Regions from separate parts of the Homo sapiens genome. Here region 2 is linked to region 1. Evidence: promoter capture Hi-C in 16 types of primary human blood cells and fetal thymus (Javierre and others, 2016). All regions are on one chromosome and are shown on one strand. Each heading gives the region's core, a stretch centred on a gene start or on the middle of the fragment in contact. The rest is flanking DNA. Distances are from core to core; before and after follow the strand shown.

Region 1 (3,015 bases), core at 173-2,672:
AAAACTTTTTCTCCTCCTCTATTTAAATGTTTAATGAGAGCATTTAATGACAGAAATTGGTTTTCTTGAGATGTCTGGAGGAAGTAGGATTCTCCTCTTAACCCAAAGGACTAGAACTGCTTACTGTGGAGGTATGATTTTAAAGAGACCCAGAGCTGCTAAAGGAGGAAGGGTGCACATTAACATGAAAATTCTTCGTGAAAGAACCCTACAGAAGAAGTCATCAAGAACTCTGCAAGGATGACTCGGTGACACTGTGAACAGCTGACGCACATGGTATCAGACACCACCAAGATTCCATAAGGCCCATCATGGTTACCTATCTAGCTCAGTATAAGATCTGATTAAGGGATCTGAATCATCTTTTTATGGTCCTTGATTTCTAGGACCTAAACATTAAGAGGAAAGTTAGAAATGATTTCCTTGGTCTTTGGCGGCTGGTATCAAACCAGTCACTCACGGATAAGAGCACAATGTTCACCGTTATCCCTGAAACCTTCATTTGTATTTCAGAGCACACAAGAGATGTCTGTCCCGGCCTTCTGCACTAGTCAATCCCAAAAGGACTATGCTAGTTTTTATGGGTTAGGTTTCAAGACAGTCTGGAAACTCTTCCGCCTACAGTTAGGTAACTTGGACACTTTGGATATAAGGTAATCAACCGCTTGGCTAGATTCAAAGGTTAGCTAACTACATGAGTTCCCTACAGGAATGAGAAATGAACGAATGATCACTAAGGGGAAAAAAAAGCATATGGTGTTAACTTGTTCAATGCCCCCAAAACCAGGGTTGACTTTCATCTAGAAAACAACACAAACATCTGGACAACTTCAAGCCCCTGGCAGGCTGAGAACTTCTTACTGCTTTGACCCTCTAAAATGAAGTCTTCGTGGGAATCAAAATGGGCCAAAGCTGAGCACAACTAAAAAGGAAAGCTCATCCTCCCACTCTGCACAGAGAGCAAAAGCAAGGGGAACTCCCCTAAATGACTGGATCACTGGGATCACCCAAGTAGCCCCACAGACATCGATGTCTATAGCCGGTGGTCATCTCTCTGCCTTCTCTCATCCTAAGCCCCTCTCGTGTAGCATCCAACCGAAGCCCACACGGATGGACGCCTGTCCACTTCCCCGGCCTCAGAAAAGATCCGGACCGCTCCTGTGCTGACTCCGCCTCGGCCCCGCGGCCCCTCGGCTCACCCCAGGCAGCCAGACAGTCGATTTGCAGAGGCAGCTTTTCTAGGATCGGCACTGGCTCGAAAGCGTCGTGCATGGCGGCAAGGGGAGAGTTGCCACCGCCGTCTCGCCCAGAGTGTTCCGGGCCGGGCTGGGGTCCGGAACGAGTCTGGGCTAAGGGTAGACCGGGATCCGGCCAGGAACCCCCCGGCTACAGGCCCTTCAACAACACAGCCATCGTCAACCCCGGACTTCCTGCTAGTTAGGCCCGCCTCTTCCGCAGCCGAAGTCCCGCCCCTTCCTCCCGGTGCACTCTAAATGAATTGTTTTGTTGCTGAGTTGCCATCGTCACTCTGGACCCATAGCTACTCCATCCCGAGTAGCCATGGGCTTACCATAGAAGGAACAAACTCTTAATCTTAGAACTGCTTTAGGCAGTGGGCGTGATGGTTAAAAACTCGGCCTTTGGCGTCGACCTCAGACGGAGATCTACCAATTAGGAAATTAGCTGTGATTTAGAAAATTTAATATTTCGATGCCATACTTTCCTAATCTGCAAAATTTTTGTAAATACCTGTGACCTAGTGTCGTGAGCGCTTAGCAACACCTGACACCCACTAAGCTCTCAGTAAGTGGTAGCTTTAGTATTACCATTATATCCCAATTAGTACAAGCACCTTACCTTAATGCTTTCATGGTTGTTCTAGGCCAGTGGTTCTGAAAGTGGTTCTAGACCAGCAACAACAGCAGTAGCAGCAGCACCTGTGAACTTGTTAGAAATGCAAAGTTTCAGGCCCATTCCAGTTCTACTGAATCTGAAACTCGAAGGGAACAGCAACCTATGTTTTAATAAACCCCAAGGTGAGTCCATGCACTTAAAAGCTTGAGAACCACCATTTTAGGTTAGGGTTGTTCAGCGATAGCACTACCGGCATTTAGGACAGGATAATTTCTTGTTGGGGGAGGGGGCATGTTCTGTACAATGTAAGATGTTTAACAGCATCCCTAACTTCCACCCACCAAATGCCAGTTATCTTCCCCACAGAGGTATAAAAATGTCTCTTTTCCGTATGTCCTCTGGGAGGCAAAATTACCCTGAGAACCACCATTTGAGGCCAATGCTTTTCAAATTTAACGTGCATACAAATCACCTAGAGACATTGTTAAAATGCCTCTTTTGATTCAGTAGGACCAGAGTAAGACCCTCAGTTGAGCACCAAAAATCTCCCAGATGTTGCTGGTCCCTGGATCACATTTTGAGTAGCAAGAGTTTAGGCAAGAGATGATTCACTAACTCTTGGAAGTCAGTGAAATAAGCCTCCTTTTAATTTGATGACCACATTCCTACCAATTCAACTTTCCAAAGCTGTGTCTTACATCCTAATATTCCTTTAGGAAGGTGTCATGGCTTTTCCTCCTATAGGACCTGGGACCTGTACTGTCTGCGGTTACCTTAGTATTCCCCTTGAAGACTTAAAAAACAACAAAGTTTGGGCTGCAAGAATGATCTATATCTGGTCATTTCCCCCTAGGAAAACATCGTAGGTCAAAAAATTAAGCATTTGGGTTTAAAGCAAAAATGTAAAAGAAAAAGGGTAAGTCTGTGATATGAAGTCAAAAAAACTGGTCCTGGTCATTTTATTTTTACACAATATCAGTTTCTTCATATGTAAATTAGGAATACTTGTCCCATCTTTACCAAATGCTGTTCTGATAATCAAGTGAAAAGTACTTTCAAGTAGTCAAAAACATGAAAATTGCTACACAAATCCTGTGTTATAGCTGATTTTCACCATAGAAGCTGATCACCTTCTTAAAAATTTAGAATTACCAGCTGTTG
Region 2 (3,360 bases), core at 583-3,082, 260 kb after region 1:
ACGAGACTCCGTCTCAAAAAAAGAAAAAAGAAAAAACATGCACACATGTACACATACACATACACAAAACTCAAAAAGCTATAAATGTCTATCCCTTTGTCACTCTACAGTATACACAGCCAGTATGCCATAATTAAAGAATGGCTGTTCACATATATAATAATAAAGGGCTACTACACTTGTTGTGTTATTGCTATTTACTGCATTCCGTGTGAAGTCCCTCAAACATTTTCTCACTTGAACTGCAAAATACTGCCGAGGGAGTATGATTAACTTCATGCTGAAGAATGCAGAGAAGTTACCTCATTCATTCACCAAATATTTATCAAATTCTTATTATATGCCAAGAATAGAGCTAGGCATTGAAGGTTAAGCGTGAAAATATTCAGTCTTGGCCGGGCACAGTGGCTCATGCCTGTAATCCCAGCACTTTGGGAGGCTGAGGCAGGTGGATCATGTGGTCGAGTTTGAGACCAGCCTAGCTAACATGGTGAAACCCCATCTCTACTAAAAATACAAAATCCAAAAAAAAAAACCAAACCACTAACTGGGCTGGTGGTGAACGCCTGTAATCCCAGCTACTTGGGAGGCTAAGGCAGGAGAATCGCTTGAACCTGGGAAGGCGGAGGTTGCAGTGAGCTGGTATCACGCCACTGCACTCCAGCCTGGGCAACAAGAGTGAGACTCTGTCTCAAAAAACAAACAAACAAACAAAATATTTAGTCTTGCCCTCTCGGAGTGACAAATAATCAAGTGGTCAAAGTGGGATTCAAACCCAGGCAGATCTGACACCAAAGCTAATGCTTCAAACACCATGTCACACTGTAAGCATTTGGTGCATTGAAATTTTTCATTATATACAGTTCATTTGTCAAAAACAATACAACACAACCCACTGTTACTTAAAGTTATCTACTATAGTGTGATAAACAGGGTTGTGATTCAAAACGCCTTTTTTTTTTTTTTTTTTTTTTTTTGAGACGGAGTCTCGCTCTATCGCCCAGCCTGGAGAGCAGCGGCTCGATCTCGGCTCACGACAACCTCTGCCTCCAGGGTTTCAAGAGTTTCTCCTGCCTCAGCCTCCTGAGTAGCCTCGATTACAGGCATGCGCCACTATGCCCAGCTAATTTTTTGTATTTTTAGTAGAGATGGGGTTTCACCATGTTGGCCAGGCTGGTCTCAAACTCCTGACCTCAGGTGATCCACCCACCTCAGCCTCCCAAAGTTCTGGGATTACAGGCATGAGCCACTGTGCCCAGCCAAAACACTTCTTTTAAATGGCAATTTTACTGAAGATTACCATCGTTTCCTTCCTAGCTCTACAGATGCTTCATAAGGAGAGAGTAGGCCAGGTGCGGTGGCTCACGCCTATAATCCCAGCACTTTGGGAGGCTGAGGTGGGCGGATCAAAAGGTCAGGAGTTCGAGACCAGCCTGACCAACATGGTGATACCCCGTCTCTACTAAAAGTACAAAAATTAGCCAGGCATGGCAGCGCGTGCCTGTAATCCCAGCTACTCAGAAGGCTGAGGCAGGAGAATCGCTTGAACCCAGGAGGCGGAGGTTGCAGTGAGCCAAGATCGCGCCATTGCACTCCAGCCTGGAGACAGAGCAAGACTCCGTCTCAAAAAAAATAAAAAATAAAAAAATAAGGAGAGAGTAGCTTTACACATGACCTCTTCTAGCCACAACTGACTGGCCGCTAACTAAAATTAACACTTGTGGACCTGAAAACTAAGACAAGTTAGTGACAGAATAGAATGAAAAATCGATTAATATACACATCTTCGGTGGGGCACGGTGGCTCACGCCTATAATCCCAGCACTTTGGGAGACGGAGGCGGGTGGATCACCTGAGGTTAGGAGTTCGAGACCAGCCTGACCAACATGGTGAAACCCCGTCTCTACTAAAAATACAAATTAGCTGGGCGTGGTGGCGCATGCCTGTAATCCCAGCTACTCAGGAGGCTGAAGCAGGAGGATCACTTGAACCCAGGAGGTGGAGGTTGCAGTGAGCCGAGGTCACACCATTGCACTCCAGCCTGGGCGACAAGAGCAAAACGCCGTCTAAAAAAAAAAACTTCTCAAGTCCTGTTATTCAATGCTTCCTGTTATTCAATTCCTCCTTGATTTAGATGCTTACCAATATGCCTAATCCCCTTTACTTGAGCTAAATTTAAGTGAGTTCTGTTCCTTACAACAAAACCATTCCTGACCAAAACAGCATTCACTGAAATGGGTTTGTCTGACAAAAAAACTGATTCTTCTTACTATAAAAATGTTATCACCCACTAATAGTTTTAATGTGACTTTTGTTTTTTTTAAAACACTTCACTAATCTTGTCCTAAATTTACATGCAAAACCTTCTCCCATCCTGCTCCAAGGAATGAATACAAACATTGAGACAACTGAGCTTTCAAAAATCATTAGAAAAAATTCAGCCAGACATGGTGGCTCACACCTGTAATTACGCCCAGTACTTTGGGAGGTCAAGGTGGAAGGATCACTTGAGCCTAGGAGTTCAAGATCAGTGTGGGCAACCTAATAAGACATCATCCCTACAAAAAAAAATTTTTAATTAAAAAATAGCACATGCCTGTAGTCCCAGCTACTCAGGAGGCTGAGACGGGAGCATCACCTGAGCCTGGGACACAGAGGTTGCAGTGAGCTGAGATGGCTCCACTGCACTCCAGCCTAGACAGCAGGGTAAGACCCTGTCTCAAAATGAAACAAAACAACAACAAAAAAAAAAAAAGAAAAAAAAGAAAGAAAGAAAAGAAAAAAGATCCACAGGCACAGGATTAAGGTAATAGCCCCAAATGCATTCCTTCTCATGTATTAGGCTTCTATTTAGGCCTTGTATATTAATCAGTATTATATTTTTAAAGGCTGGGTTGGTTGGAGGGGAGGGGGGACTCATGGTTAAACACATGTGGAAAACATTGAATAATACAAAAAATATGACCAGGTGTAGTGGCTCACACTTGAGGCCAGGAGTTCAAGACCGGCTGGGCAACACAGTAAGACTCCATCTCTATTATACACATATATTTAACTCCAGGGCTTCTCAGTATTTTATGTTAATGGGCCTCAGGATACTCAGGGATACCTTACACAGCTTTTCCCCATACTCAAGTCACTTAGAACCTTTTCTCCTCCATAGTTTATTTGGAGAAACCAGAGTTACACTAGTTTGGGAAATTGGAGACAAGCATGGCTTCAACACCAATTGTTCATAGTCCTATCTGAAAATAAGTATCAGTTATCCCTTCCAACTAACCCATTTTGTTACTTTCTTAAGTCATACCACTCACTTAAAGCAGGCCATTCCCTTGCTTTAAAAAAAAATAAAAAGGCAAA

Evidence for each region. The method cuts DNA at HindIII sites, captures the fragments that hold promoters and counts their contacts. A CHiCAGO score of 5 or more calls a contact.
Region 2: a contact is called between a fragment that was not itself captured here and the fragment with the promoter of VPS39 in region 1, in 2 of 17 cell types (megakaryocytes and endothelial precursors). The highest score is 5.7, in megakaryocytes.

Annotation. Positions count from the first base shown.
Region 1 is chr15:42,206,882-42,209,896 of GRCh38, forward strand. It overlaps VPS39 (VPS39 subunit of HOPS complex), which reads right to left and starts at 1,423. Exons shown (of 25, transcript NM_015289.5): 1 at 1,200-1,423. The coding sequence starts at 1,272. It overlaps VPS39-DT (VPS39 divergent transcript), which reads left to right and starts at 1,520. Exons shown (of 3, transcript XR_932181.3): 1 at 1,520-1,803; 2 at 1,883-2,036. The HindIII fragment of the contact is 2,996 bases long and covers 1-2,055 here.
Region 2 is chr15:42,467,117-42,470,476 of GRCh38, forward strand. The region is part of intron 2 of ZNF106 (zinc finger protein 106); the gene reads right to left. Among named protein-coding and RNA genes, the nearest start is that of ZNF106, 22 kb to the right of the region's middle. The HindIII fragment of the contact is 6,354 bases long and covers 1-3,360 here.